Regions from separate parts of the Homo sapiens genome. Here all the other regions are linked to region 1. Evidence: promoter capture Hi-C in 16 types of primary human blood cells and fetal thymus (Javierre and others, 2016). All regions are on one chromosome and are shown on one strand. The core of a region is centred on a gene start or on the middle of the fragment in contact, and the rest is flanking DNA. Distances in the headings are between cores, read along the strand shown.

Region 1 (4,255 bases), core at 511-3,010:
CCCAGCCTCCAGCTGTCGGGGGAGGGGGTTATTGTCCCCCAGCCCTGGGCGAGAAAAGAAGGGACAGTGAGAGGGAAGGCTTCTGAGGAGGGAGAGGTCCTGCCTGCCTCCCCACCTGCCACAGAGCCCCCTGGGGCCTTTTGAAAGGCAGACACTCCCAAATCCAAAGGAAGAGGTCTGGAGGAATGTTTTCACAGGCGCCAGCCTCCCCACCACCATGCCCTGGGTTGGGGTGCCAGGGAAGAAACCCTGTCCCCAGAGCAGGTGGGGAAGGGCCCTGGAGGCATGGAGCCCCCCAGCCTGCGCTCCCCGGCAGAGGGCTGAGGGGTGGAGGGCCGGGGGGTGAGCACGCATGCTGAGCCACTGTCTCCCCCCACCACTGTCTCCAGATGGGGGAGTCGGGGGTGGCAGGAGCCGTGGTGCCCTCAGGGGCAGCTGCTGGAGGGTCTGGCTGGCCAGGCGCCTGGTCAGCTGCCAGGGGCTGAAATTGGAGCCAGCTGGAGCTGGGAGGCCTGTGGGAATGAGGGGACTCAGGAAGCCCCTTCAGTGGGGGCTGGGAAAGGAGTGGCTTCCCTTACTCACTGTGTCCAGCACTCCCTGACCACCCCAGGACCACAAGAGCAATGAATACTGTGAGCACCGCTAAGCCCTTTATGTGCATTCTCTCTCGAATTGGCCAGAGAGAGGCTGCCCTCTTGTACCCAGTGACGTCCCAACCACAGCCGGCCATGCCCCAGCCCAGCCCAGTCCCTGGGGGCTGAAGCCACTGAGGCCACATCCTCCATGTCTAGGTCCCCCTAGGGTGTGAGGAGACGTGGCTCCAGCTAGGCAGTACCCATGTCGGGTGTGGGGGGCTGAGGCCTGGGCTTCCTTCCACTCTGGCTTGCTCCCACGTTGGAGAGACCACGGTGCCAGCAGTCCAGACAAGATTTTTAGGGGCAGAGTCCAGCAGCCTCTGGGGGCTGGGCCCCCAGGCCTGATCACCCCAGGCAGCTGCGGCAGGGTCCCAGGTGAAGCCCAGGAACAGAGCCCCCAGGGCTGCCACACGCCACTCTGCAAGGCCGTGTGTTGCGACCTGGCTCGGGCTGGGCCCTCCCAATCGAGAAGTAGCCGTGAGGGTGAGTTCCTGGGGGCAGGGCCTGCAGCCACCCCTGCTGGCCAGGAACTTGGGGTGGGGGGTTTGGACAAAACCCAAGACTAGCCAGGGGTCCTGTGCCCACCGCAGGGAGTCCCTATAGAAACCTGGCCCCCAGCCCCCCAGAGAGGGGCACTCCTGCCGCTCCCCCCTCTCTCTGCTCCACTCAAGACTGGCAACCCCCAGACCCCGGCAGCGGTTCCTCCAAAGAGAGGGCACGGCTACCTGGGTGGCCCCTGCCTGGGGTCCCTGACCCCAGCAGCACTCTGCAGTCCTGGGGGTGATTCCACCAGATGGAGTGTTTGGTTACACTCACTCCCCACAACCCCTGGGGTGCTGCCCCCAGCCCAGGGACCCACCCGGAGCCACTCCGCTCACAGGCCCCCAAAGGCGACCAGGGCCAGTGGTTCTGGGGGAGACCTGTGCGGCTGCAGTTGAAGACACTGTCCCGCAGCGTCGAGGGAGGCAGCGGGGACCCCCGCAGGTGCCGATGCCTTACCTGGGCCAACAGCCCGAGGACGAGGAGGAACGCGGCGTCCATCGGGGCCGAGGCGGGAGCCGGGCCGGAGTGCACCCGCGACCCGAAGAAGCGCGTCCAGGCTGAGTGACAGCGCAAGTGCGCGGGGCGGGCCAGGGCCAGAGACAGAGACAGCACGTGTGAGGGGGGCGGGGAGGGGGCGGGGCAAGGGCTGAGTGACAGCACGAAGGAGGCCTCTGACGGGCCGAGGGCCGGCCTGGGCAGGGCTAAGGCTGAGTGACAGCGTGTTGGCAGGCGGGTGGGGCGGAGCCTCTGGCGAGCTAGGGCGGGGCGCAGGCTGAGTGATAGCCCGTGTGCGAGTGGGGCAGGCGGGGCGGGGCCGGGGCCGAGGGCTGAGTGACAGCGCAGGTGCGCCGGCGGGGCGGTGACCGCACGAGGCTGGTGGGGCGGAGCCAGAGGAGGATGGGGCGGGCGGGGCGGGGCCGAGGGCTGAGTGACACCTTGTGAGAGTGCGGGGTGGGGCCGGGGTGGGGCCGGGGCGGGGCCGAGGGCTGAGTGATAGCTTTTGCGGGGTTCCGGCGGGCAGGGCCAGGGCTAGGTCGGAGATACCCCGGCTTGCTGCGTTGGGAGCAGAGCCAGAGGCCAGGCTGTGGGGAAGGCAGGGTGGGTGCGTCCGGGTCAGGGACCAGCTGGGATTCCTGGCTTCTTCATTTCCTGCTCCTTGGGCCCGGCTCGCCCCTGCTCCAGGGAATCTGCATTGTAGTCCCTGCCGGGGGACACCTCTTGAGCACTTCCTTGGGCCCCTCGCCTCTCTGGCTGCGTCTCCTGCGCCTCCCCGCATCCCACTGAACGCTAGGCCCGCCTTCCACGCACCTCCTCGCGACCTCATTTTGCCCAGCTCTTATTCAGTATGGAACTGCTCTGGTTCACACGCCTCTGATACCAGCGTGGCTCGTAGGACACCCCCAATTCCCCCAGTCCACGCACCTCCTCCAGCATCCCCTTGTTCCCCGAGGCCCCCTGCCTGGAGCACCTTCCTTCCTACAGAACTCCTTCTCATCATCCCTCAACACCCAAGGTCAACGCTGCCGCCTCCTGGAGCCTCCTTGCCACCTCGGCCAGAAGCCCTCCCTCCTGTTGACTGTGGCACCTGTTCTCCCCTTCGAGACCCCGCCCCCTGGGATGGTGTGGGTGTGGCTCAACACCTGCACAGGCCCAGCGCACGGTCAGGAAGGTCCTGGAGAGGGGGTGGAGGGGGCTGGAGGCAGGAGGATCCTTTCTTTTGAGCAGGCAGGGTGGGGAGTGGGGGTTGCCGACCAGCCCAGGGCCGGGCCGGGGAGCCCGTTCCTCTCTGTGATGGGAGCAGACCCGGTACCTCTGCTCTCCTGTCGACGGCGGGTGGCTGTGCAGGTGCAGGCAGCATCTGTGCACTTGGCCTGCTTGAAAGGAGGCCAGGCTGCCCGGGAGGCTCAGGCCAGGACTGTCCCTAGCGCTCACTGCTCCAAGATGAGAGAGGGCAGGGAGTCCATCTCCAGACTGGGAGGCCTCTGGGGCTGGGGTGTAGCCTGTTGGGGACCACCATCCTGCCTCTGTGGTCAGTGACCTCAAAATAGGGGTGGAGAAGCCCTCTGAGTGCTTTTGGTTTTCATCCTCACGGGACTAGTGCAGGGGTGAGGTAGAAGTGCTCGCCCTCCCCCCAGAAAGAGGTCTGGGGAGGCTGCGGTCTGCCAACCCCAGCTCCTCTCCGCTTCCACCCTGCACCCACCTCGCTTCAGCCACCTGCCTCCCACCCACCTCGGGGAGAAACGGAGGCCAAATCCCTCCTCCATGGGATGTGGGGGTCTCTAAGGGAAAGGCTAAGCTGGGCCAGGTCCTGGGTGAGCCCCAAATGCAGGGCGGGGCCAGGGAAGCAGCCGGCTTAACCACTGCGGGAGGGTGTGCTCCCTGGCTGGCGGGCTATCCCCCAGGGGCAGGTGCCCCCGCGAGGGACCCCGCTCCACATGCTCCCAGGGCAGCAGGAAGGTCAGGAGGCAGGAGCCTGGGTCCAGTCCCAGCTCGGAGCCTTGGGCTGGAGGTTCTCCCCCGTGCCTCAGTTTCTCCTTGTGTCAGAGGTAGGTGGCAGGGAAGGGCTGGGTACCCTGAGTCTGGAGGTCCTGTGCAGTGGGGGCAGGGGTACATTTTCGGCTGCAGGACCATCAGCCCTAGAAGAGCCCTTCCCTTTCCTGGTGGACCTGGAGACGCCGGACCCTCCCTCAGCACCCCAAGCCTCCAGCTAGGACCCCACTCTGGGCCTTCTCCTCCTTTTTCCAGAGTCTGCAGTCCTGAGCCTTTGGGACTCACCCCCATCACTCCTGCCCTCTGCCTTGCCCACCTCAACTCTCCACCTCGGGGGACGCACCTCATGGGCATGAGGTGGGGGTGGGCCGGCCAAGATGTAGAGGGGGCTCCCTGGTCCACAGCCTCAGTTCCCATCCTATTTCCTCTCCCCAGTATGAGGAACGGGGGGACAACAAACAGGGTCCCGGACCCCCCAGGAGCCTTGCAGTCTTGGATGTCCCAGAGGTCCCCCCACCCCCAGCCCTTGGCCACTCCTCCCAACACCGCAGGCAGTGGTCGAGGCTGGGCTAAGGAATTTCCAACTT
Region 2 (4,255 bases), core at 761-3,260, 500 kb after region 1:
AGACCCTTGCCCTGCCCTGTTGAGACACTGTGCCAAATCGACATGGTTGCCTACACTCAAGACCCCCCTCCCTGGAGTCCTGCTCCCACCATCCAGTGGGGTGGTGGCGTTTCCTTCTTACACGTGGCCTCTTCTCACCGCCGAGCTGTTGGGCGGCCGCCCACTGGGCTGGTCCTCCTCTTCCCAGCATGTCTCAGCCTCTCCAGCTCAACCCCAGGGGCAGCGTCCAGGAAGGAGCAAGGAGGCCCCTCCTAGTCCCTGACACCTTCGCTGATGGGGATGGTGGAAGGGAGGTTTCTGGGAGCGGACACCTGTCCCTCAGGAGGGCTGGGCCGCTGTCAGCTGCCCTGCTTCTGGCTGCAGACAGGAAGACATCATTGTCCTGGTCCTGGAATGGAGCCACGTGGAGAGCGGCAAGCGCTCCCCTTGCTCCCAGAGCCCACTGAGCCTCCCGTCCATCCGTCTGTCCATGAGACTATTCAGGGGGGCTCACAGGGACCACACATGAAGCACCTTGTTGCTCAGCCACTTGGCTGCTCCAGTCCCAACCCGGGCAGTGGGAGCCCCACTCGGGGCAGCCCCGCCTGCAGATCAGCCTGGCTAACACCTGCCAGGTGCTGACGGGCCCTTGGGCAGATGGCTTGACGACACCTGTTTGAAGAGCCTTGGGGACATCCCAGAGGAAGCTTGACCTAGACCTTGGGCTCCGCTGGATCAAGGGTGACCTTGAGTAAACCGGCTCCCCAGAAGAGCTTGGGCTCCAGCCGCTACCAGTCTCCACGTGAGCTGGCGAAGTGAAGACACTGAGAAAGCCTCTCTCACCTTCCTGGACCGGGACCACTGCCTCCCCTACAGGGATTGGCCGTCCCCAGAGAGGGAGGCACCCACTCAGCTGCCATAACAAAGCACCCCAGCCTGAGTGGCCGAAACAACAGAGTTTCATTCTCCCCCAGTCCTGGAGGCTGGAAGTCCCAGATCCAGGTGAAGGCAGGGCTGGTTCCTTCAGAGGCTGTGAGGGCGGGGCTGTTCCAGGCTTTCTTGTGGCTTTGGGAGTCCCGTGGCATCTCCCTGTGTGTGTCTGTTTCTGTCTCTCCTCTTCTTATGAGGATACAGTCATGTTGCCCTGCTCCAGGAGGCCCCCATCTTAACTCATGACATCTGCAAAGCCTCTACTTCCAAATATGGTCACAAGCGGAGGGCCCGAAAATTAGGACTTCAACATACGGAAGCGGGGGGACGCAATTCCACCTAAACAGCCAGTGGAAACATGGGGCTTTGCCAAGAGTTGCCTTGAGGGTCCTTGCACTCAGCGCTGAGGAGAGGGGAGGCCTCACCCTCTTCTTTTGTCCCTCAGTCTACAAAGGATCATGAGGGCCAGGCATGGGAGTTCACTCCTGTAATCCCAGCCCTGTGGGAGGCCAAGGCGGGTGGATCACTTGAGCCCAGGAGTTTGAGACCAGCCTGGGCAACATGGCAAAACTCTGTCTCTACTAAAAATACAAAAGAATGAGCTGGGTATGGTGGCACACCCCTGTAGTCTGAGCTATCCAGGAGGCTGAGGCAGGAGGATTGCTTGTGCCCAGGAGGTGGAGGTTGCAGTGAGCCAAGATCACACCACTGCACTCAGCCTGGGCGACAGACCGAGACCCTGTGTGAAAACAAAAAAACACACACAAAGGATCATGGGGGACAGCTGATCTTAACCGATGGGGTTTACTGGAAGCATCTCTTTCAAAGGTTGCATCCAAGTCACCTTCCCCAATGGCCATAGCTGTTCCCTGACCCATCTCCTCTCCCTCATCCCCATCGGGGCAAAGGCAGGGGACAGGCCAGCACCCGGGTCTTGAGGAGGAGTAGGGCTAGGAGCCTGTCCTCCAGGGCCCCCTCCCTCCCGACTGTCTCCCGGAGCTCTTGCCTCCTCTGCTTCACGGTCAGGCTGCCAGGGGTGAGGGTCTCCACCGGCCTGGAAAAAGGCAAGAGCTCCAACCACGGTTTCTATTAAGTCTCGGCATCTCACAGGAGGGCTTTTTTTGTTTGTTTGTTTGTTTGGTAGCATCCAGATCCCTAAAGGAAGCTATATTGTAAATTGTCTTCTATTTCTGGGTCCCAATATCTAAATGAGGCGATTGCACCTGTTGGGAATGAAGGACAGGAATTTCACAAGCCGAAAATAAAGCTGAATGTTTTCCCTTCTGTCTCAGCCCATGGAAAATGCTCTTATATTTATATCTGGGCGGGCAGGGGCTGGGAGGGAGAGGATGGGTTGGCAGAGAGAGGGGCAGAGGAAAGGCAGGGCACCTGCCAGGGGCCTGGGGTGTAAAGAATGGAGGAGCCACTCCACTTAACGCAGGTCTGGCCCAAGTCAGAGGCAGCGAGGGTGGCCAGCCCCACCCAGGACACCCCCAGCCACTGCCCACCAGCCCTGCCCTTCACTGCTGGCCTCTCCTCCTTGTTCTGCCTGACCATCCCCAGGTTAACCTGGAGCGGTCATTTAAAATCTGGGCTTCTGGAGGCCTATCCAACACCTGCAGCTTGAGCACCAGGAAGGAGGCGTCTCAGCCTTGCTCACAGTCTCCGGGGGCTCGGGGCGGGGAGAGCTCTTCCTCCCAGGACTCAGGCCTTCCTTTCCCCACCCAAATCTTCACTCATCACATCCACTCTCCTCCCTCTTCCAGGGGCAGTGTCAGAGTCTTTCCTCCGGGCGGGAGGCGGGGCAAGGATGGACAGGAGGCTGCAGGACCTGAGCACACTGGAAGCGGGTGTTTCAGTGACGGTCCAGTGATGTCTGGGTGAGGGTGGAAGCCTAGGAAATCCCTGAGGATCCTGGACAAGAGGAAGAGGGTGTCCTGAGCTCTGAAAGGCAGGGGCTGCACCCTCCTCACAGCAGAAAAAGTCCCCTGATGACGTCTTCCCTAATAGCACACGGCAGGCCTCAGACAGGACCCACACCAGGGTGTGCAGGAAGGAAAATTAGTAGGGCCCTGCGTGCCTCTCGCTGTTCTCTGACTCATAGTGTAAAAGCAAAGAAGACGCCTGGCCTCCTGGAAACAGGTGTTGAGGGACAGCGGGCCTCTGGGTGACCGGGTCCCTCTCTCCACTCCCCGTTGATAGAAACTTATCCCGAACGCCAAAAGGCGCTAAGGTTATTGCCTTCATGTCCAAGGGCCCAGAGCATCCTATAAATATCATTTTGGCCCAGAATAATCATGGGGGTTCTCTAGGTGTTTGAAAATAGCCTGCTTGCTACTATCTATATTCAGAGAACCCACTCCTGGCCTCCACTCGCGTGGCTAAGTATAGCTCCCTGGCAGAGTTCAATGGAACAAAAGCTTCCAGGCGTACACGACCTCACGGATGGCAGAACATTCTCGGAGGAGCACCTCAGCTGCCACGACTCAGAGGAGCTCAGAGAGAGGCTGGCACTGACCTGGTCACCTCCCATCTCCCAGTCTTGAGCCGGGTAAATCTGTGGACCTCTCAGCAAACAAGAGGCATTCTTGCCAGACCCAGGAGCAAGGGGCTCTGATGCTAGTTTTGTCCTTCTTGAGGGGTTGAGTTAGTCACAAAGCCTTGGTTTCTTCATCTGTAAAAGAGGGATTGTGCGAACTTCTATGTCAGAATTAAAGAGAACTCCAAGTAAGCCATAGAAAAACCAAAGGCTGGCCGGGCGCAGTGGCTCACGCCTGTAATCCCAGCATTTTGGGAGGTTGAGGTGGATAGATCATCTGAGGCCAGGAGTTCGAGACCAGCCTGGCCAACATGGTGAAACCCTGTTTCTACTACAAATACAAAAATTAGCCAGGCGTGGTGGTGTGCGCCTGCAACCCCAGCTGCTCAGGAGGCTGAGGCAGGAGGATCACTTGAACCTGGGAATCGGAGGTTGCAGTGAGCTGAGATCGCCCCACTGCACTCCAGCCTGAGTGACAGAGCGAGACCCTGCCTTAAAAAACAAAAAGAAAAGAAAAGAAAAAAAAAAACCAAAGACATTTAGGACACCCAAAATAAAACTGCCAACCTAAGGAACACTCTCAGCTTTGACTCCTCTTAGGATCTCTATTTCTGGACGCCAGGTTCTAGTTGCAGCGAGTCTGTCTTCACAGCCACCCCTGGCCCGGCCCACGGCAATGCCTGAGAGCAGCTCAGCACCTGCCCCGGGGTTGGGTAGAGCTGTATCATGCGAATGGGTAAAGGCGGCAGAGTTTCAGACCCAGGGCCCAGCCTAACGGTAGATAGACGCCTCCCATCTTGCCAGGGG
Region 3 (4,255 bases), core at 661-3,160, 470 kb after region 1:
CCAGCTCGATGTAGATTCCTAAGGCCTTCCCCTAGAGAGCCGGCTCCCCACTGTTCCTTGGGACCAGCAAGCACAGCAAAAGCCCTTCTGGCCACAAGGGCCTAGCATACAGCCACAGCAGCCTCTCCTCAGTGAATTCTGCCGGCAGCCTGGTGTTCTTGGCAATTTCAGATGCTCCTGGGTGGTTAAAGAAGTACCTATCTTGGCCAGGTGTGGTGGCTCATGCCTGTAATCCCAGCACTTTGGGAGGCCGAGGCAGGTGGATCACTTGAGGTCAGGAGTTCGAAACCAGCCTGGCCAACATGGTGAAACCCTGTCTCTACTAAAAATACAAAAACAATTGGCCGGGCATGATGGCAGGCACCTGTAATCCCAGCTACTCAGGAGGCTGAGGCAGGAGAATCACTTGAACCCAGGAGGTAAAGGTTGCAGTGAGCTGGGATCATGCACTCCAGCTGTTGCACTCCAGCCTGGGTGACAGAGGGAGACTCCATCTCAAAAAAAACAACAACAACAACAAAAAAACCACGCACCACCACTGGGAATTAAGAGGGCTAAAAGGAGAGAGACCTGGTCCTCCCTTCAGGGAGCTATGAGTCTAGTGGAAACAACTGAACAATACAATGGCTACAAGCCAAGAAAGACATGACAAGCGCCTGGGGGAAAGCTAGAGGTCTTCCAAGCCTCTATCCTGCCACAGATGAAACAAGCATCTCACACGAGATTAAAAACTTTCACCCAGACCATCTGCCAAGTTCCCAAGATGCTCTGATCCGCCCCTAGATGTATTCCAGCTGCCCCCAAACGCCTGGTCCTCCTACAGCTTATCCCAGTCTAGACACCACGGCCCCACTTCCAACTGTCCCCATAAGTTCCATCAGAAACCTCATCAGGGGATCTGTGGCTAGCTCATGGGAAACTTTCCCAAGCAGGAAACCAATGCTTTCGCCTCCACTTCAACACCAGGGGCACGAGGGACCCCATCAGGAGCAGGAATAAAGTAAGTACATGTTTTTAAAAAGAATTAACAAAGCATCACAAGTTGCGGCTATCCTGTCTGCTAGCGAGGCCATGTTTGCCAGGGTCTCAGCCACCTCCAGGCCTCACCTGCAGAAGGCATCTCCGGCTCGTATCACCACAACGGGCTGCGCTTCCTTGCACTTCACACACTTCTGCTCACGGCTTTGGAGATGGGAGGGGGGAGAAGAGAGAAACACAGATCACATCTTCCCCACGCCTAGTGGGCTTTGGGGAGACAGCTCCTGTTTCTCACCCTGAGTTGGGTCAGAGAAAGGCACCTCGGTACACACACAAACCCAGGCTTGTGTTCTGTCCAAACTTCAAGAAAAACAAAGGCTCTGGGGGGATGTTTAGCCTAGAAAAGCCGGCTCAGGGGGCACATAAAGGCCGCTTTTCAGTCTCCCAAGGCTGACACGGGGAGGCGAGACAGCTTCACGGCACCAGTTCTCTCCGAATAAGGACAGCACTGTCAGCGGCAGAGCCGTCCCCAGTGGCTGCTAGGATGAGAGGCGCGAGCCAGTGGAGTAAGTCCCCTTCTAGGTGGCCGTCACCGCTTGACAGGCATTCCCCGAGTGCTAGGGAGCGAGGTCCCGCTCTCCACGCGGGGCTTCCCGGAGCAAGCCCGGCCGGGACCCTTCGGGGCAGGAGTGCGGCGGGAAGGCGAGGGGCGGCCTGGCGGGTCCGGCCGCCAGCTCTTACCTGGGCCGCGGCGCCGGGGGCGGCTCCTCAGGCGCCGGCTCCCCGTAGTCCTCGCCCACCTGACACATGGGCACGCCGGGTCCCGTCGCAGACTGTGGCGGCGACAGCGCGAGGGCGCGCCCCGATGACGTCGGAGTGGCGCCGTGACGGCCGCGAAGCCCGGCTGGGGGCGGCGCCCTACGATGACGTCAGCGCGGCGCAGTAGCGGCTGTGACTAGCGGGCCGGCCCGGGCCAGGACAGCGGGCGGCGGGCGGCGCGGGCCTGGCCCCGGGATGGCTATGTTCCGCAGCCTGGTGGCCTCGGCTCAGCAGCGGCAGCCGCCGGCCGGGCCGGCGGGCGGCGACAGCGGCCTGGAGGCGCAGTACACCTGCCCCATCTGCCTGGAGGTCTATCACCGGCCCGTGGCCATCGGCAGCTGCGGCCACACGTGAGCGCGCCCGCCCAGGGGCCGCGGGGAGGGGGCCGTGCCCCGCCGCGGGAGGGGTCGCGAGGCCGGCGGCCGCCCCGGTGCAGCTCCGGACTGGGCGCGCGGGGACTCGGGGCGCCGGGGCCTCGGGGCGCGTGGGGTCCGGGTTTCCCTGTGCCGCGCCGCCTCTGCCCTCTGGGCGCGTTCATCCCCCGCCCAGCCTCCTTCGCGCCAGCCGCAGGCGCCCGGTCCGACTGCTGCTTCGGTTCACCGGGCGACCTGCGGCCCTGCCCAAGCTCGGGGTCCCCGGCGGCTGCGGCGGGCGCTCCGGTACTCAGAGGGCAGCAGGTGCCACCGCTCCGCCAGTGGTGGTGGATTTGGGCTTGTGCGGCTGGAATGGGCAGTTGTAAATAAATAACTTGTAGTTTTTGCTATCAACTCTTGTTCGGACCCGCTGTCTGCCTGTTTTGACTACAGAGGAAAGGAGTTCCCTAAAGTTTAGAGGGGCTTGTTTGGAGTCTGATGTTCTTAGTTTTGTTTGAAGGAGAACTTGAGTCACACCGATCACTGAGTAGCCAGGCAGGCTGGTCCACAGAGGAGCAGACACTGACCACCTTGCTGGGGTTTCCAGCTGCACCAGGGCTCACAGCCGGCTCCTCCAGGGTGTTTCAGGAACAGAAACTGGAGGACGTGGCTCTCCTGGCGGGGAGCTGTGCTCAAGTATTCTGGAGCTGCCAGCCCCGTTGGGAGGAAGCCTAGATCAGTGTCTGCTCCCTCCTAAGTGCTGAATAATACAGCTCTTGAGCAAAATCAGCAGTGGCAGGGGAGAGAGAGAGCAGGAGGGCTTCCCCGCAGACATCCAAGCTGCTGAGGTGGTGGAGTGGAGGGGGGTGCACCCAGACTGGTAGGAGGCTCTAGAACATTTTGCAAGCAAAGTCAGCTGACTTCAGGGGCTCCTGGTACAGAGGGAGCTGGGACTGCTAGGTGGATGTGTGCTGGTCACCCACGGAGGTGGCAGGGCCAGTGTCAGGATGCAGAGCTGCCTTCATTACCTGTGTCAGGCAGCACAGGCGCCTGCCCACGCTGGGACAGCTCTACCTACTTCTCTTGTGAGGCTGCTACAGGCTCTGCCCCTGCTCCTCCATCTCACTTAGCCGTGACATTTTGGGGGGGCAGCCTCTGAACGGGAATATTTTTTTTTGAGACAGAGTCTTGCTCTTGTCACCCAGCCTGGAGTGCAGTGGCGCCATCTCGGCTCACCGCAACCTCCATCTCCTGGGTTCAAGTGATCCTCCTGCCTCAGCCTCCAGAGTAGCTGGGATTACAGGCACCCGCCACCACGCCCGGCTAATTGCTGTATTTTTAGTAGACAAGGGGTTTCACCATGTTGGCCAGGCTGGTCTCGAACTCCTGACCTCCGGTGACCTGCCCGTCTCAGCCTCCCAAAGTGCTGGGATGACAGGCGTGAGCCACCGCGCCTGGCAGGACTTCCTTCTTGTGAGCAGGTAGCGGGTGTTTGAAGGTGTGTTCCGCACCTTCTCATCTGTTACTGAGCGCTGTGAGGCTTGACTTAGGCCTTGTTTTAGAAAAGCCTCCCGTAGGCTTTGGGTGCCAACACCTTCACCGTGTGGTCGGCCACAGCATCTCCACTTTCCTAACCTGCACAAATTGGTCTTTGCCCTTCTTTTTCAAATATGTCTTTTCCTAAAATGTAGTTTCCATAACACAGAATGCAGAACCACATGGAATTGTGGAGCATCTTTCCTATAAAACTCCCCTCTGCCATGCTTTTCTTGGTAGAATGACGACCATCCTAGTCTCACCGCGGGTCCTGCAAGAGCTTTTCACACAGCCTTTGCCTTTCAAAGATTTTTCTCCCCGACTTTTCCTGCTGGCTTTTGTTTTCTGGCTGTTCTCTCTCTGCTTCTAACTTTGTTTCTTGTTGGTGTTGCTAAGGCATGCATGCAAATGACCACAGAAAGTTTAAAGGCTCTTCAGGTTCCCTTCGGAAGTTTGTTGCTGGTCTGGTTCTGTCCCCTCCGCAAGCTCCCCAACCAGAGCAACTTCCTCCTCCAGGGTAGATCTCTCATGGCAAGAGTATCCCAGTGTGGGGGCATGCACCCTGCTCT
Region 4 (4,255 bases), core at 1,279-3,778, 420 kb after region 1:
GGGTAGGCGCCACCGTTCGGTGAAAAGGCGGTATAAGCAAAGCAACCCCCAGATACTGAAGGAGCCGGGAAATAAAAGGAGGCAGACAGAGCAAGTGTGTTGGTACCCGCCTATTTACTGGCAGGAACTTACAGACGGAAACATGGCCTCAGGCAGCCTCCAGGCAGGTAGAGCTCTGAACCCAAACGCCCGATCTGGGGCTCGTATCGTGCCCTGGGAGGAATGTGCAGGTGGCTGGGAACGTGGCGGGTGGGGTGGCCAGATTCCTGCTGCAGCACCGGGTTTGTTTAGGAAGAAACGTACGAGGACTAGACACTCTTTTTTTTCTTTCCTGCACGTGAATGCCAGGGAGTAGGTGCTCCTGCAGGAAGATGATGCATCAACCAGCCAGTCTGGAGGCATTCCGAGACCCGGGGTTAATCAGCAGATTAGCATTTAAATAAAGTTACTCTGTCCCCACAGCCAGCTAGGCCCGAGCCACATGGCGGGGGCGGCGGGGGCGGCTGTTCGCCGCATCCCAGGCTTGCTCCATCTCCTCGTCTGCAATGTGGAGGTGACAGTCGTGGTCCTCGGCTAGTGCCACAGGACTGTACGGGACAGATCACCCAGCCCCGTGCCTGCACTGGGGGCGGCGGTGACGTGATGGCCGCGGCGGTGACCTGATGGCCGCAGGTGTGTCCACCCTCTGGTTAGGCCTCTCCTCTCCCTGGGGCGCAACAGGTGTCCTCGGGTGGGAGGTTCAGCTGCTGGGCCTGGGGCCCCAGCTTTCAGCTCCTGTGCAGGCGTGGAGCGGGACGGCACGCCGGGGCGTTCGTTCACACGATGCCCCCAGCTCGTCTCTGCCTGCTCTGTGATGCAGCCTCAGCTCCTGTGGGTCCCGGGTCACCCACCCGTGTGGGCCGCAGTCTTTCTGCACCACGTCCTGCTCTCGGCCAGCGCTGGCCTGCGGGCCCCGGCAGTGTGGGGTCACACACAGGCCGCACCGGCTGTTTCACGGAGCCCCCCTGCTCAAAATCCTGGCCTTGGGTCTCTGTGTGGCTCCTGGAGGGAGCATGTATGAGGTGTCCAGGTTGTGAAAGCCCCATCCGGCAGCCCTCCCTGTGACAGTCCTTCAGGCCTCGTCAGGCTTGGTTCAGCCCGTGTTAGAGGAGGCCAGACAGCTCCTCCTCGATCACCACAGGGAACGAGGGTTGGGCAGTTTCTCCTCTCCCACCCGGGCGTGGGTCAGCTGCAAGGGTCTCATCCCAGGAACTGGATCCTGGCAGGGGGGCTCAGGCATCTGACATCCCCTGGCAGGTCTTCCTATGTGCCAGTGGGAGTGGGTGGTGTCCAGCCCTCTTTGTGGAATGTTCCGGTTGAGTGGTGTGTGGTCCTGGTTACCACCATGTGGCATTTGTGGCTTTCCTGGCCAGCACCCACTGAAAGCAGAGGCCAGCCCAGCCCTTGGACACCCAGGGGCCCAGCAGCTACCGTGGGGGCAGCCTCTCCCCTCCTGACTGTGCTCCTCTCAGCTGTAGGATGAAGGTCTGTGGATGGGTGATGGCTGGGCTCTCTGCTTCCCAAGGAGCTGGATGTGGGCCATAGTCAGGCGTGTGCTGGTGAGGCGAGGGGGTTGGGGGTTGGGAACCACAGCTCTCTCTGACCCCATCCCATTGCAGCTGACTCAGGAAAAGGCATTACCCCCACGGGGTCACAGGCCCAGCCTGGGCAGCTCCTGATGGGAACATGGGAGCCACAGGGCAGGGCAGGCTCCTGTCCCCGCTCCTTGGATTGTCTCAGGCCCCGCCTCCCCTTTGGCTGAATTTCTTCCTTCTCTGCCTGAGCCTGATCTGCGAAGCTTCCGACCTGCCCTGAGTTGGAGCCAGTCTTCAGGGCCAAAAGCAATGCCGTCTCCTCCAGGCAGCCTGCTCTGAAGTCTCCCCCTCTGGCTTTAGCCCACAAAGTCACAGCTGAGGCCACATCAACACACTTAGACCAAGAGCACTGCCGGCTGCATAGACAGCACAGGTAGATCCAAGGAGTGTTTCGAAAAGCCGTGGCCCTGCGGCCGGGATGCCCGGACCTGGGTCCTGACCACTCTTGGGAGCTCCTCCCCTCTCAGAGCCCATCCCATCTGAAAATGGGGGCATTGGAGCATTGGAGGAGTGCTCCTCACTCCTGCCCTGCTAGCCGGCTACTCCGAGGACCCCAAGACCAGATGATGGGAGAAGTGGTGGGCTGGGCTGTGACCCTGAGCCCCCTTCTCATCCCACCCGTGAGGCTGCCCCTGCTTGGTGTCTGTGGCAAGGCTGACAGAAGATGGCGCCAGGGACCAGCCAGGGCCCTCCTGTCTCAGCCCGTCCTTGGGTGAGTGGGTGTGCTCTGGGGGTGGCAGGTGTGCTCCGGGGGCGGGAGGTGTGCTGCGGGGGGCCGGGTACGCTCTGGGGGGGCGGGTGAGCTCTGGGGGGCTGGGTGCGCTCTGGGGGGGCTGGTGTGCTCTGGGGATGGACAGGTGTGCTCTGGGGGGCGGGGTGTGCTCTGGGGATGGATAGGTGTGCTCTGGGGGGGCGGTTGTGCTCTGGGGGGGCAGGGGTGCTCCGGGGGTGAGTGTGCTCTGGGGGGCGGTGGGTGTGCTCTGGGGGCGGTGGGTGGGCTTTGGGCTAAGTAGCCCTCTTCCTCTCTGAGCCTTTTCCTTGTCTGTGTTGTTGGTGAGTGGCCGCCACCTGGGACAAGCCTTAGCTGTCTGTCCAACTGTCCACCATGTCCCCGGACCCTAGACCAAGCCCGCTGCCTGGTGGGGCCTGCTTGGTATTGAATGAATGAATGAATGGATGAATGGATGAATGGATGAATGAATGAGTGAACAAACTCTGGGGGGCGTGTTGCTGATCACCCCAGGGCAGGCCCGTGGTGGGTCATGGTCTCAGGCAGGGGACTTGCCCTGCCGGGTGACGTTGGCCTGCCGGGGAACCCCTGCCAAGGTGCCTCCCATGCCCCCATCGTCCTCTGCCTTTGAGTCCACTCTGCCCCTCAAGGTTCCCCTCTGGCTCGGCCAGGGGCAGGGCGGTCAGGGAGGCCTCCAGCTCCAGCCCCTCCCTCATCTCCATCCTCAGCCCCTGCACCCGCCTCATCTCCAGCCCCAGCCCCTTGCAGCCTCAGGCTCGGGCTTCTGAGAATCCTTTGCAGATTTCAGGGCTGGTTATTTTTTTATTCTGGCAAAATATACATCCATAAAGCTTTGTTTCCTGAGATGATCTCACCCTGTCGCCCAGGCTGGAGTGCGGCAGCGTGATCATGGCTCACTGCGGCCTCAGCCTCCTGGGCTCAAGTGATCCTCCTGCTCCAGCCTCCTGAGTAGCTGGGACCACAGGCATGCACCATCATCCCCGGCTAATTTTTGAATTTTTTTGTAGAGATGGGGTCTCTGTGTTGCCTGGTCTGGTCTCGAACTCCTGGGCTCAAGTGATCCGCCTGCCTTGGCCTCCCAAAGTGCTGGGATTACAGGCCTCAGCCACCACACCCGGCCTAAAGTTTGTCACGTTAGCCGCATTGAAGGGCACAGGTCAGCAGCGGTAAGCATGTTCGCATTGTTGTGCAGCCATCACTGACACCCATCTCTAGAACTTCTTCGTTTTCCCAAAGGAAACTGCACGCACGGCACCACCTCCCTGGCCTCCCCACAGCCTCAGGGTCTGGTGACCTTCATCCCCAGGACCTACGCTTCTGACTCCAGGAGCCCTGCCTGGTGTCCACACCACACTAAGGTGCCCTGCCACGGGCTTCGAACCCAACCCTGGTGCACTTGTTGAGCATTGGACGTTCCTGGCAGGTCAGACCGTGAGCTCCTCTGCTCTGACGGATGCATGGACGGCTGCCACCTGGCTGGACAGGTGCAGAGGGGAGGTGCCACCTTCTCTGGGGACAGGACTGGGGCAGAACTCACCCGGCTGAAAAGTGCAGCTGTGGAGAACTTCAGAACTTCAGAAGCCTTTGCTGTGAATGCATTTTCCTCCTGCCTCTTGGGCCAGATCTTAGGGATTTTTTTTTTTTTTAATGAAAATGTATAATCGTCAAAAAACTTTAGATTTAAAAGCATGGAGCCGATGGCTATGCTTGGTGCGTTAATGGGAGGAAGAGGGGATCTTAACTTCAGGGAGGGCTCCTGGGGGAGCTGGGGGAGGCTGCTGTGTCCAGCAGGGCGGGCGGTGCCCCCCGGAGCCCGGCACTCCGCGATGTGTGCGCTAAGCCGAGGCCGCCTTGAGCCCGTAGCAGCGCC
Region 5 (4,255 bases), core at 505-3,004, 400 kb after region 1:
GTGGATGGGCATAGAGTCTCAGGAGGGCCTGGGGCCGCGGGTGGACGGGCATAGAGTCTCAGGTGGGCCTGGGGCCGCGGGTGGACGGGCATAGAGTCTCAGGAGGGCCTGGGGCCGCGGGTGGACGGGCATAGAGTCTCAGGAGGGCCTGGGGCCGCGGGTGGACGGGCATAGAGTCTCAGGAGGGCCTGGGGCCGCGGGTGGACGGGCATAGAGTCTCAGGAGGGCCTGGGGCCGCGGGTGGACGGGCATAGAGTCTCAGGAGGGCCTGGGGCCGCGGGTGGACGGGCATCTGGACGTCGGCTCCACTAGTGTCACCTCTGCAACCTTGTCCCACCCAGCACCTCCCTATGGCCCTGCTCTGACTGTGGGCTGAGGGGGACCCCCATGGCTAGCTTGGGACCTCCGCTGGACACTGTCATAGGGCACTTGTCGAGTGGCCCTGCTGAGGTTCAGGCTTGGGCGTGTGTGGCCCCTGAGCCCAGCAGCTGCGTGAGCCGTGGGGAGCCGAGCCCCCAGTCAAGAAAGCTGTGTGCTCCTTACCCTGCCTGCTGGGCTTGGGGCCTGCAGGGCAAGGGAGGCGGTGGGATGGGAGCCCCGCCTGGCCTGGTTTCTTGTTGTCGCCGCACTCCTAGCTGTATGTAGTCAGATGAGGCTCCCAGTCCTGGCTCTGCTGCTGAGCACCATTGGGCCGGTGGTTGGGTGAATCTCTCAGCCTCTCTGAGCCTCCAGCACTTCGTCCTTAAGAGTGGAACTGGTCTGGACCTCCCAAGGGGGGGTCACTGGGTGCAGAGTTCCTGCAAGGCTGGGCCCGGTGCCAGTAGCGGTCGCTCTGTGGGGCCTTTCGCACGGTTGATTTTTATCTCCCTGTGAGATTAGCGCCTGCCCTGCTCTGCCTCACGGCTCTGGCTCTCCGGGACTGAGACCACCTGCTAAGTGACAGGGGCGGAAGGACCTTGCAACACAGAGCAAGACGTGATAGGGTGGAGCTGCTCCGCCCAGGCCCCGCCTGCAGATGAGAGGGCCCAGAGCCTCTTAATCCCCTGCGCTCAGGGCATGTGACGGCAGGGAGTCTCTCCAGTGCCGCCCACCGGATTCCTATAGTTAGAGCTCCTCGCCCAAGCCCCCAGGGCACCTCACTGGCCTCCCAGGTGAGGACATGAGGCCCAGCGACTCTGGTGGTGGCTGGTGTCACCTATGGCAGGGCCGCGCGGGGCCCAGTGGAGGACGCCTGGCCCGGACCTGACTGCTCCGTGGGAACCGTGGGGCGTGCTCAGGGTGACTTGGTGCGGCTGGGCTGCCAGCCGGCCTGGCTGAGTCACTGGCAGTGAAGGCACCAGGTGGTGGACGTGCTCGGCAGCTGGCGGGAGAGTACCCCCACCCAGGACCGTGTTCAGGCTGAGGGGGAAGGGAGCGGCCCAGGCAGGCACCGCCCATGGCGGGGCCCCCGCACTAACGGCCACCTCTCCCGATGGACTGCAGTTCTGGAGCCGCCCCTGAGGAGAACGCCCTGCTCAGTGTCCTGGCAGACTCTGGACTCTTCACCGTGCCATCCTCGCTACAGCCTGGCCAGGCAGCCGCTCCCGTCCCCCCACCCCACAGACAGGAACTGCAGACTCCTAAAGGTCGAGCCAGCTCCCAAGTCCATAGCCAGAAAGTGATGCAGGCGGGGCCCGGCTGGGGGGCAGGTGTGACCGGGTCATGGGGGAGCGGGCTGTGCACAGGCATCAGGCTGAGAGGTCTCGGGGATACGTCCTGGGAGCCGCCTGCCAGGCGTCCTGTGGGGCTGCCTGCAGGCCTCCTCTGGCTTTGGCAGGTTCTGTCCCGACAGACCGAGGCTTGGGAAGACCGGATTGTGCACTCTCTGCCTGGAGAGAGGGTGGGGAGGGGCTGGGGCGTGTGGGCAGGGAGAACACCCTGGGAGGCATCAGTCCTCTTCCCTGGGGACGGGCCATGCGTCAACAGTCCCTCACTTCCTCTCTCAGGGGCAGAGGCGTGGGGGTCCCGAGCCTCCAGGTTGGAGTAGGTTAGGAGGGCCTCAGAGCCCCCTGCTGCCCCGCCATGTGGCATTGGAAGGGGTGTGACCCCCTAGGGGATCTGTTAACCACACTCCGCCCCATGCCGGCCTCTCTGTTCCCTCTAACCTGCGCAGGAGCAGGGCCAGCTCTGAGCTAGCAGAGGTGACATGAGGCTCGTCCTGGCCCCGCCCACCCTGGCCCCTCCCTGTTTCCCACCACGCTCCGCCCACCAGAGCTACATGTTGTGTTTGAGCCTCAGCCCCAGACCTGGCTCAGGTCCTCAGGAGGAAGCAGTGACAGCCAGGCCCGGGGTCCTCTCCCTGCTCTGCTCCCTGCGTGCTGACTGGAGGCTGCAGGTCCCCAGGCTTGGCCCTGACCCTCAGGAATGGAGCCGGCCGATGTGAGGTGGGGGCTCCGGTCATGTGCAGTGGTAGGAGAGGAGGCGGGACCGGTCCCACAGCTCCATTGCTGCCGAGGCGTTCCGCAGGTCTGTCTTCATATTGGTAAGGAAAATGCGAGGATGGTGTAGCCTGGGCATCCCAGTCCCCAAGTCCGAAATCTAAATCCAAGCGGAAAATTCCAGGCCTGACTTCATACGCCAGGTCACAGTCAGAAGCCAGAATTATTGAAAGTATGCTCTGGGCGTGGTGGCCTCACACCTGTAATCCCAGCACTTTGGGAGGCCATGGTGGGAGGATCACTTGAGGCCAGGAGTTTGAGAGCAGCCTGGGTAACATAGTGAGACCCCCGTCATTATTTACACAAAATTATGTGACTGCCTTTAGGGTATGTGTACGAGGTATATATTGAAATGTGAGTAGAATTTTGTGTTGAGTCCCATCCCCAAGATACCTCATTATGCGTGTGCAAATATTCCAAAATCCAGAAAATCCTAAACTGGAAATACTTCTGGCCCCTTTGGATGAGGGGCCCCCACTCTGCATAGCAAGTGTGGGCGCGGGTGCTGCTGTGTCCTAGCGTACTTCAGTGTGTGGCCTTTGCAGTGAATAGGGCTGGTGTCCTCACTGTACAGATGAGGAAACTGAGGCCCAGCTTGCTTTGCCAAGGTGCATCCGGCCCCGGCCATGGCTATTCTGGCTCCAGATCCCATGGTCTGCAGCCACAATACTGCTGTGCCCCGGACTGGGCCCTGCAGCTCGCGGTGTCGCTGGCCTGCCCATTGTGGGCACCGCCCCCACCCCAGACTGGCCGAGGCCTAGAAGGGAGCAGGGCCTGGCTGAGGCTGCAGGGGTGGGGACGGTCAGCCAGCCCCTCACTGCCAGGAAGGGCGCATCCATCCTGGCCTCTCCCCAGGGAGAAGGGAGGAGCGGCTGAGAGGGAAGCGCTCTTGCCCTGTGGACGAGCTCCTGCCCCACGGACTAGGGAGCCCCCGCCCACAACCTGCTTGTCAGGGCCACCCGGGACCCCCGGGAGTTCGGCTGCTCGCTCTGCTGTTAGGAATTGGATTAGTTTTCCATAAAAACAGGATGTGGTGGGTGAGAGGGCAGTGTGTCCGTCTTTCTCACTCCCCTTTTTCCAGGAACTGAGCACGCGCATAGGTTTTAGCCAGGGCCGTCCAGTCCCCTCCCCACCCCCCACAGGGAACAATCCACTCTCTGCTCTTAAGTGGCCACTTAATCAGCTTCTCCTCCTGGCCCGGGGAGCTTCTTGGAGCCGGCCTGCCGTGGTGGGAACAGCTATGGGGACACCCTGCCATAAGGTCCAGCAGCTAAGCTGGGATGTGGGGGGAGGGGCTGCGAGGCCCAGGCAGTGTGCCAGGCCGCACAAGAGGAGCCCAGCTCTTGCCCCACCAGCTGGCAGCCCTGGACCGAGGTTGGGCCCGTGAGGTTGGCTGGGCCCTGGGCCCTGGGCCCCCCTCCCCAGGACACGACTGTGGTGGCACATGGCTTTGGGGGCTCGTGGGTCCCACTTTGCAGACCTCTGCTTTAAGGGGTCTGGTCCACGGGGTCCCCTCTGGAGGGCCTGGGGGAAATCTCAGGGACCTGGGGTCTGGACCCGGGGGAGGGAGCGGGAGAAGCATGTGCGTGAGTCTCGTGCTGTCAGGGAGCCCGGGAAGTCTGCGAGGGCTTGGGGGTTGTGTCAGGGAGTGTGGGTTTTGCCCTTCAGTGGTGGAAGCTGGCTTGAGTCCCCTCGATCCCTCAAGGCTGTAGTCCTGACTCGGGGCTGTAGGGCAGGGCAGGGTGGGGTCACCCTGAGGCAGAAGGCTCAGCGGAGAT
Region 6 (4,255 bases), core at 1-2,500, 320 kb after region 1:
AGATAACAGACACCACCCATAATTTCCCCACCCAGGGGTGACAGCCGACAGTCCTGGGCAGCTGCTTTTCCATCTCATATGTCTTATTTGTGTGCAGTGACTGCTTTCCAGAGCACGCTCTCCAGCGCCCAGGGGTCCGTGTCCTGACAGCAGTAGCCGGGCCTTTCTCTGCACTGAGTGGCATCTCCCTCCTAAAGATACTTTGCTTCAGAATTTCATCCTTTCACTTTTGAAGTTCCTCTGGGCCAGTGTAGATACTTTGTTTCAGAATTTCTTCTTTTCATTGTGTAACTCCTTCTGGGCCAGCATAGCTTCGCTGGATGAGCTGGGCTCTGCAGGTGAAGCCTCCCTGTTAAGTTTCTGCTTTTCCTGACTTTCTCAGAGGACAGAGGGGTGAGGCGGGGCAGCTCATGAATAATTTTTTATGTTGAAGACTTGTCGAAATAATATTTTGGTTATGTTGGGTTAAATAAAATATAAAGTTAGTCTGTATTTCACCTACTTCTGCTTTTCTAATGTGGCTCCCGGTAAATAGGGAATTGCATGTGGACTCACCCTACGTTTCCATAGGACAGCAAGGGTTCAGGCCGTGCAGGGTGGAGGGGTGGGGTGTGGCCACCGGGGCACATGTGGGGGAGGGTGACAGGAAGCCCCGCCCACCTGGGCACCTGTTCTGTGGCCTCCACTGTGTGGCTTGTGGGGTCGTTTGGCAGCTGACGCCTAAAGAACCCCAGAGGAGCTGTGTCCTGGCCGGTAGGTGTACTTGTAAGGACTTTCTGATGCAGACAGCAGAAGATGAAGTCAAAGTGACAAGCAACAGTGGGGATTCCCTGGCCCTCCTGAGTCGACAGACCAGGGCCGCCTGGCGAGTTTCCCCTTTCGTGGCTCTGCTGCCTCTGAACTGGCCACATCCTCACTCAGCCTGTGATGGTCCTAGGTGACTCCAAGTCACCCCTGCAGTCAGCAGACCCAGTGGGAGGTTGGCTCTGCCCGTGTCATGTTAGCGTGATGTGGGTCTCAGCCCTGCGCCAAGCACACTGGGGGAGGGGCACATGCTGACCTGTCCAGCCCAGGCCTCGGAGCCTCGGGCCTACCCCAGAAGGGAGACTGCCCCTGATCATCTCATCTGCCTGGACCCAGCAGAGAGGGGGTTCCCTGAAGGGCCCATGGTGCAGCTGCCAGGACAGGGCAGGGATGCTGGCAGGTGAGAGCCACAGAAGCTCACAGTGGAGCCCCGAGGTGCCCTGACGTGGCCCAGGGTGCAAGGGGGTCCTCACAGGCTGTCTTCTCTCCTTGGAGTCCGGGGCTTCCTCCGCAGCCCTGTCCACACCTCTTCCTGCACTGCAGACCGGTTGTTTCTGCCAGGGCGCTGGCGTCTGAACCTGCAACAGGTCATTCGGCCTCTGGCATGACATGGGATGGCTTGATGACCCACAGCTCTGGGCCCAGCACCACTTGAGGACGAGTGTGCATGTCTCAAGTTCAGATTTTGGAGCATGGCCCTCCAGGGACCGGCTGCCTCCAGCCCAGTCTCCCCCTATCCAGTCCTCTGTGGCTGGGCAGTGGGGGGCCTGGGCCCCCCTTTCGTCTAAGCAAGTGCAGTTTCAGAAAAGGGTTGTCCCCAAAACTAGCTTATTGCACCCCTCATGGCCAGAAGCCACTCTCCAACTGGTCACACTGACCCGGGAGAGAACCATTGCCCCCAGAGTCGGGACCAGAAGGGGAAGCTGGGACTCAGGGGTGAGAGCAGCTGGCAAGAGCCCCCACCTGTCCAGGGGGAGCTGAGCCGGGCAAGGACGGGTCTACCTGCACTCCCCAGGGCTGCCCTGCCCTGGCCTTTCACTGACCCACGGTCCAGCGCGGCCTGGCTTCGTAGTACCCTGGGCACCTGCTGCGTGAGTGAGGAAACCTGCGTGGCCCACTCTGCTCTCCAGGGCTTCTGGGGCCTTGGAGACAGGTGAGACCCAGTGACAAGTTCCACTCTGGCCCACACACAGCTCCTGCCTCCCAGGGCGAGCAGCACTCTGTGTCTCCACTCCTTATTTGGAAAATAGGGTTAAGGAGGGTCAGCCCTGACCACAGAGGAAGTGGAGAGTCAGGGCCACCCAGGCCAGCTCCTGTTGCCACAGCAGCCTCGTCGAGCCACCAGAGTCCGGGGAGGGTTGCTCAGTGCCCCTCGTTTGAAACAGACAAGCACTGGCCTGCTCGTCTTCATAATAATCCCATAGCAACCAGTAGGAATGGAAACTGCGTTTCTTAAAACTCTGAAATTCTGAAGGATACTGATCCATGGCTCACAGCTGTGCTCGCTGAACGTGGACAATCATTTGGGGGCTTTTAGGCCTTTTTTTTTTTTTTTTTTTTTTTTGAGATGGAGTCTCACTCTGGTCACCCAGGCTGGATTGCAGTGGTGTGATCTCAGCTCACTGCAACCTCCGTCTCCCAGGTTCAAGCAATTCTCCTGCCTCAGCCTCCCGAGTAGCTGGGACTACAGGCTCCCACCACCGTGCCCAGCTAATTTTTGTATTTCTAGTGGAGACGGGGTTTCACCATATTGGCCAGTCTGGCCTGAAACTCCTGACCTCAGGTGATCTGCCTGCCTCAGCCTCCCAAAGTGCTGGGATTACAGGCATGAGCCACCACACCCAGCCAGGACTTTTTTTTTGAGACAAGGTCTGGCTCTGTCACCCAGGCTGGAGTGCAGTAGCTCGATCACAGCTCACTGCAGCCTCAAACTACTGGGCTCAAGCAATTTTCCTGCCTCAGCCTCCTGAGTAGCTGGGATTATAGCCGCCCATCACCACACTCGGCTAATTAATTTGATCTTCAATCACTGATACCCTTTCTTCCACTAGATCGAATCGGCTACTGAAGCTTGTGCATGCGTCACGTAGTTCTGGTGCCATGGTTTTCAGCTCCATCAGGTCATCTAAGGTCTTCTCTACACTGTTGATTCTAGTTAGCCATTCGTCTCATCTTTTTTCAAGGTTTTTAGCTTCCTTACCATGGATTCAAACATCTTCCTCTAGTTCGGAGAAGTTGGTTATTACCGACTTTCTGAAGCCTACTTCTGTCAGCTCGTCAGAGTCATTCTCTGTCCAGCTTTGTTCCCTTGCTGGCGAGGAGCTGCGATCCTTTGGAGGAGAAGAGGTGCTCTGGTTTTTAGAATTTTCAGCTTTTCTGCTCTGGTTTCTCCCCATCTTTGTGGTTTTATCTGCCTTTGGTCTTTGATGCTGGTGGCCTAAAGATGGGGTTTTGGCGTAGATGTCCTTTTTGTTGATGTTGATGCTATTCCTTTCTGTTTGTTAATTTTCCTTATAAGAGTCAGGTCCCTCAGCTGCAGGTCTGTTGGAGTTTGCTGAAGGTCCACTCCAGACCCTGTTTGCCTGGGTATCACCAGTGGAGGCTGCAGAACAGCAACTATTGCAGAATAGTAAATATTGCTGCCTGATCCTTCTTCTGGAAGCTTTGTCCCAGAGGGGCACCTGCCTGTATGAGGTGTCAGTGGGCCCCTACTGGGAAGTATCTCCCAGTTAGGCTACACGGGGGTCAGGGACCCACTTGAGGAGGCAATGTGTCCGTTCTCAGAGCTCAAACACTGTGCCGGGAGAACCACTGCTCTCTTCAGAGCTGTCAGACGGGGACGTTTAAGTCTGCCGAAGTTTCTGCTGCCTTTTGTTCAGCTATTCCCTGCTCCTAGAGGTGGGGTCTACAGAGGCAGCAGGCTTTGCAGAGCTGCGGTGGGCTCTGCCCGGTTCGAGCTTCCCTGCCGCTTTGTTTACCTACTCAAGCCTCAGCAATGGCGGACGCCCCTCCCCAGGCAGGCTGCCACCTCGCAGGTGGATCTCAGACTGCTGTGCTAGCAGTGAGCAAGGCTCCGTGGGCATGAGACCCTCCGAGCCAGGCCCGGGATATAATCTCCTGGTGTGTCGTTAGCTAAGACCGTTGGAAAAGCGCACTATTTGGGCGGGAGTGTCCTGATTTTCCAGGTGCAGTCTGTCACGGCTTCCCTTGGCTAGGAAAGGGAAATCCCCCAACCCCTCGCACTTCCTGAGTGAGGCGATGCCCCACCCTGCTTCGGCTCACCCTCCATGGGCTGCACTCACTGTCCAACCAGTCCCAGTAGGATGAACCAGGCACCTCAGTTGGAAATGCAGAAATCGCCGTCTTCTGCGTCAATCACGCTGGGAGCTGCAGCCCGGAGCTGTTCCTATTCAGCCATGTTGGAACGGAATCCCCACACCCGGCTAATTAA
Region 7 (4,255 bases), core at 599-3,098, 290 kb after region 1:
CCCACCCTCCCACGCCACCCTCCCATGGCACTGCTAGGAAGGAACTTGAGGCCCAGAGAGGTCGAGCACCTTGACCTTTGAGGCCCGAGGTCAAGTTGAGCTTTCGGCCACCCAGCCCAGGCCCCCTCTGCTCGGACCTGAGCAGGGCTGTGCACCCCTGCATGCTACCCAGGCCCTCCTTCCCCACCCCACAGGCAAACCTGCCCTTGCTGCAGCGGGAGCTCCTGCACTGTGCACGCCTGGCCAAGCAGACGCCCGCCCAGTACTTGGCCCAGCATGAGCAGCTCCTGCTGGACGCCAGCGCCTCCTCCCCCATCGACTCCTCAGAGCTGCTACTGGAAGTCAACGAGAACGGCAAGAGGAGGACGCCCGACAGGTACCTGTGGGCTCCGGGGATCTGGGCTGGGGGTGCCGTGGACACGCGGCTCACCCTGCTCCCCTCTGGGTAAGAGAGGGAACCTCCTCTGGGGCTGCAGCCAGCCCGGCCGGCTCTCTCGGGCTGAGGGAGCGTGGCGAGGTGTACTAGGGCCAGCAGGCTTGGTGGCTGCACGGGCGGACACCCCAGTGGGCTGCAGACTCAGATGCTCCGGGGAGCCTAGGAGGACAGGGAGGAGGCTGGTGGGAGGACGGCTCTCCCCTGTGTGCCGGGCATGGACTCCGAGCGTCCGGGGTCCATGGTCCCCAGGTGCCTGGGCTGGGCCCCCTCTGCTGCCCCAGACGCTCTTGTGCTGCTGCTGCCCAAGGGGCAGGTGGTCTCCAGTTACGGAAGCCTGGTGTATCCCTCTCCTCGTTCCCAGAGCAGCGAGTCCGGCTCTTTGACCACCAGGCCCCAGGATGCCATGCAGCTGGAGCAGGGGTTGAGGCTGGCATGGGCCCCGGCAGAGGGGCAGAGAGTGGGGGCGCCGGGCTGGGCTTCCCGGGGCTGGTGTTTTGCTCCGTGTTTCTGTCTCGCCCTTACGTGTCCTCTTTCTCTCTGCCCTTGCCTGTCTGCCTCTCACCCCACCTGCACCTCTGTCCCCGGTTCATCCTATGTCCACTGCCCTCGCCCCACCTGCTCTTGGGGCTAGGACCAAAGAGAACGGGTCAGACCGCGACCCGCTGCACCCCGAGCACCTCAGCAAACGGCCATGCACCCTGAACCCTGCCCAGCGCTACAGCCCCAGCAACGGGCCACCGCAGCCCACACCGCCGCCGCACTACCGCCTGGAGGACATAGCCATGGCCCACCACTTCCGAGATGCCTACCGCCACCCAGACCCCCGGGAGCTACGAGAGCGCCATCGGCCGCTTGGTGAGCAGCCCGGTGGGGCGGGAGCGTGGACGCGTGTTACAGGAGCACACATGCGCCCACATGTACACCTGAGCATGTGGGCACAGGGCACCACGGGCAGCTGTGTGCACCTGAGCTCGGGAGACCCCTTCCCCCTGCCTGGCATTCCCCCTGGAGCAGAGCGGTGGCTGCAGAGGGGCCTGTCCTGGGCCCTGAACCCACCTCTCCCCCCGGGGTGGGCGGCCTCGGGCCTGGAACTGCCCACGTGGTTCTCATCCGAGCTTGGCGATTCCCACAGTCCACCCACAGGTGAGTCACGTGGCTCTCTGCTTCTCAGTTTCCTCCTCTGTCACCTGGGCCAGACGAGAGTCCCAACTCTCAGAGTCCAAGGCCTGGGGGAGTTAATGCAGGGCCCAGCAAGGGCTGCCGTGAGGCCTGGCTGGTATCTAGAGCAGGAGAGGGGCACAGAGTCTCTGCGTGAGGCCAGGCTGGTGTGGATAACAGAGAGGTGGGCACGGAGTCTCGGTGCATTTTATCCTTCACTCGTTTCTGAGCCCGTCAGTGGGGTGGCGTCAGCACCCCCATACCACAGATGAGGAGACTGAGGCCTGAGAGCACACATAATGCACCCACAGTCTCACAGCCCAGCCTGCCTGACGTTTTGACGGCCTCTGTGCTGAGAACCCAGAGATGGTCAGGCCCAGCCCCACCCCAGGAGCCCCCCCAGGACAGGCTGCAGGGAGGCCTCCAGTCTGCCATGCTGAGACAGAGGCCCAGGGCCCGGTGGGGGCCCAGCAGCAGGGTCAGCAGAGGCCTTGCCCTACACAAGGCCATCTCCCAGCCCCCACCTTGCGGAGGGTTCCAGGGCCCAGGCAGCAGGTGACGGCGTCTGGCATGCTGCAGCCGGGTCAGGCAGGTGCTGACTCCCACCCGATTCTGCTAATACAGAAATAAACGCCAGCTGTCGGGCACGTCTCAGCCACTATTTTGGTTGGGGTGTTGCTGCCAGCTGCAGCTTCACAGGCGGCAGAGCAGGCTGGTGACTGAGCTGTGGCTGCCACTTCCCCACCTCCTCTGCAATTTGGGGGAGCCATTTCAGGTTCGGAGGCTAGGAGATCTTTAGGGGCTGAAAAGGGCCCCAAGAGGGAGACCTCAGCCCCAGAAGCGTGGGCAGTGGCCAAATGCAGAAAACAGTGGGGCCTGGAAGCCTCTGATGTCTCCAGAAGTCGTGGGCGCAGCTACCACGAAAGAGTAAGCCACTGCCGGGCGTCACTCACGTCTCCCGTGGGCACAGCCACCGCAGAAGAGTTGGCCACTGCCGGGCATCACTCACGTCTCCCGTGGGCGCAGCCACCGTGGAAGTCGGCCACTGCCGGGGTCACTCACGTCTCCCGTGGGCGCAGCCACCGCAGAAGAGTCGGCCACTGCCGGGCGTCACTCACGTCTCCCATGGGCACAGCCACGGCGGAAGAGTCGGCCACTGCCGGGCGTCACTCACGTCTTAGTTTCTGGTGACCTGTGGGAGTGGCCTCTGCGGCTTCAGTCCTGGAGCCTGTCAAAAGGGAAAAACCTTAGACACGCTGTATTGAACAGAGTTTAACTGAGCAGAGAACAACCCCGAATAGGATGGGCCTCAGAGCCAGCGTGTTCCGAGAGCCCTGGCCTCGGCTTGGCTGGCGGTGTTCACAGGCAGAGACAGGAGGCGGGTGCCGAGGCCACGTGGTTGGGTGGTGTTTGGCGTGGCTTCATCGGAGTCATGGGCGCCTGCGGGTGACCGCAGAGGGCTGCCGCGAATGACTGAGACCAGCTCCTCCCAGTGAGGTTACCCATTGATTCACGGACTAAGGCAGGTCCAGGTCATGGTGTGACTTGGCACTGAGGCATCCTCAGGCCACGCTTAGTCTAACAAAGCCTTCCCGGCCAGTGGCTGAGGACACTGCTCCAGCTCCAGCCAGCCTCGGTCCACACCCCACCCCCACCGCTCCCTGCCTGGTGACCACAGGCAAACACATCCTCTTAACCAGCCTCAGTTTCCTCAGCTGCAGAATGGGACTGAGACTGAACCCTCCCTTGGAGGCGTGTGCCGTGTTGCAGGGGAAGAGCAGTCGGCCCAGAGCCCCAGGCGGCTCAGTAACCCAGGCATCCTCCACGGTCACCAAGTCAACCAGCCCTTCGGTTACCCTGTCCATCGTCCCCAGCGGGCACAGCCCACGGGTGGGGCCTGGGAGCAGAGGGCGGGGTCTGGGAGAATAGGGCAGAGACTGGCTGTGGGTGGGACCTAAGCGTGCACCTCCCCCATCCACAGTGGTGCCTGGGTCCCGGCAGGAAGAAGTGATCGACCACAAGCTCACAGAGCGTGAGTGGGCAGAAGAGTGGAAGCACCTCAACAACGTGAGTGTCCACACACAGCCACGCCCACACAGCCATGCCCAGGCGCACAGCCACGCACACACACAGCCACGCACACACAGCCATGCACACACAGCCACGCCCACAGCCATGCCCACACACAGCCACACCCATGCACACAGCCATGCCCACACAAGCCACGCCCACACAGCCACAGCCACGCCCGTGCAGTCACACACAGCCACCCCCACGCACACAGCCACGCCCACGCACACAGCCACACCCACACACAGCCATACACACACAGCCACACCCACACACACAGCCATACCCATGCACACAACCCCCCCATGTACACAGCCACACCCACGCACAGCCATGCCCACACACAGCTACACCCACACAGCCATGTCCCCACACAGCCACACCTGTATGCCTATGCATAAACACGGCCATGGCTCTGCCCCATGGGGCCTGGGGCTGCTGGAGACAGCAGGGCTGTGTGGGCGCCCCTGAGCTCAGTGCCCTCCTGTGTGGCCTGCGCCGTCCCTGCGCAGCGGCTGGGTCCTTCACCTGAGCCCCCCTCCTCCCAGCTGTCAGCGCAGCCCAGGCATCTCGAGAGGCCCAGGGAGGAGG

The links. The method cuts DNA at HindIII sites, captures the fragments that hold promoters and counts their contacts. A CHiCAGO score of 5 or more calls a contact.
Region 2: a contact is called between a fragment that was not itself captured here and the fragment with the promoter of CDH15 in region 1, in 2 of 17 cell types (neutrophils and monocytes). The highest score is 6.2, in neutrophils.
Region 3: the fragment with the promoter of RNF166 here is called in contact with the fragment with the promoter of CDH15 in region 1 in 3 of 17 cell types (monocytes, neutrophils and erythroblasts); the score reaches 7.6 in monocytes.
Region 4: a contact is called between a fragment that was not itself captured here and the fragment with the promoter of CDH15 in region 1, in 16 of 17 cell types (M0 macrophages, M1 macrophages, monocytes and 13 more). The highest score is 13.8, in M0 macrophages.
Region 5: a fragment that was not itself captured here is called in contact with the fragment with the promoter of CDH15 in region 1 in 8 of 17 cell types (naive CD4 T cells, total B cells, total CD4 T cells and 5 more); the score reaches 8.2 in naive CD4 T cells.
Region 6: a fragment that was not itself captured here is called in contact with the fragment with the promoter of CDH15 in region 1 in 3 of 17 cell types (fetal thymus, M0 macrophages and naive B cells); the score reaches 6.3 in fetal thymus.
Region 7: a fragment that was not itself captured here is called in contact with the fragment with the promoter of CDH15 in region 1 in 1 of 17 cell types (M0 macrophages); the score reaches 5.5 in M0 macrophages.

The regions. Positions count from the first base shown.
Region 1 is chr16:89,169,253-89,173,507 of GRCh38, reverse strand. It overlaps CDH15 (cadherin 15), which reads right to left and starts at 1,760. Exons shown (of 14, transcript NM_004933.3): 1 at 1,635-1,760. The coding sequence starts at 1,676. RefSeq lists a silencer at 1,685-2,324. The HindIII fragment of the contact is 9,317 bases long and covers 1-4,255 here.
Region 2 is chr16:88,672,932-88,677,186 of GRCh38, reverse strand. All of the region lies in intron 3 of SNAI3-AS1 (SNAI3 antisense RNA 1), which reads right to left. Among named protein-coding and RNA genes, the nearest start is that of SNAI3, 11 kb to the left of the region's middle. The HindIII fragment of the contact is 2,643 bases long and covers 689-3,331 here.
Region 3 is chr16:88,704,063-88,708,317 of GRCh38, reverse strand. It overlaps RNF166 (ring finger protein 166), which reads left to right and starts at 1,910. Exons shown (of 6, transcript NM_178841.4): 1 at 1,910-2,147. The coding sequence starts at 1,993. CTU2 (cytosolic thiouridylase subunit 2) reads right to left here and starts at 1,815. Exons shown (of 15, transcript NM_001012759.3): 1 at 1,720-1,815; 2 at 1,108-1,182. The coding sequence starts at 1,787. RefSeq lists silencers at 1,547-1,856, 1,897-2,176 and an enhancer at 1,798-2,435. The HindIII fragment of the contact is 28,082 bases long and covers 1-4,255 here.
Region 4 is chr16:88,751,451-88,755,705 of GRCh38, reverse strand. All of the region lies in intron 1 of PIEZO1 (piezo type mechanosensitive ion channel component 1 (Er blood group)), which reads left to right. Among named protein-coding and RNA genes, the nearest start is that of PIEZO1-AS1, 11 kb to the right of the region's middle. The HindIII fragment of the contact is 1,378 bases long and covers 1,840-3,217 here.
Region 5 is chr16:88,767,752-88,772,006 of GRCh38, reverse strand. The region is part of intron 1 of PIEZO1 (piezo type mechanosensitive ion channel component 1 (Er blood group)); the gene reads left to right. Among named protein-coding and RNA genes, the nearest start is that of PIEZO1, 15 kb to the left of the region's middle. RefSeq lists enhancers at 869-1,452, 1,453-2,036, 2,621-3,204, 3,205-3,788, 3,789-4,255. The HindIII fragment of the contact is 5,586 bases long and covers 1-4,255 here.
Region 6 is chr16:88,851,365-88,855,619 of GRCh38, reverse strand. All of the region lies in intron 1 of GALNS (galactosamine (N-acetyl)-6-sulfatase), which reads left to right. It overlaps LOC107983950 (a long non-coding RNA gene), which reads left to right. Exons shown (of 2, transcript XR_933884.3): 2 at 1-492. Among named protein-coding and RNA genes, the nearest start is that of GALNS, 3.5 kb to the left of the region's middle. RefSeq lists a silencer at 610-679. The HindIII fragment of the contact is 3,253 bases long and covers 1-2,876 here.
Region 7 is chr16:88,882,082-88,886,336 of GRCh38, reverse strand. CBFA2T3 (CBFA2/RUNX1 partner transcriptional co-repressor 3) reads left to right here. Exons shown (of 12, transcript NM_005187.6): 6 at 195-376; 7 at 1,068-1,291; 8 at 3,576-3,661. It overlaps LOC101927793 (a long non-coding RNA gene), which reads right to left and starts at 2,822. Exons shown (of 3, transcript NR_135194.1): 1 at 2,119-2,822; 2 at 1,493-1,716; 3 at 1-595. The HindIII fragment of the contact is 9,463 bases long and covers 1-4,255 here.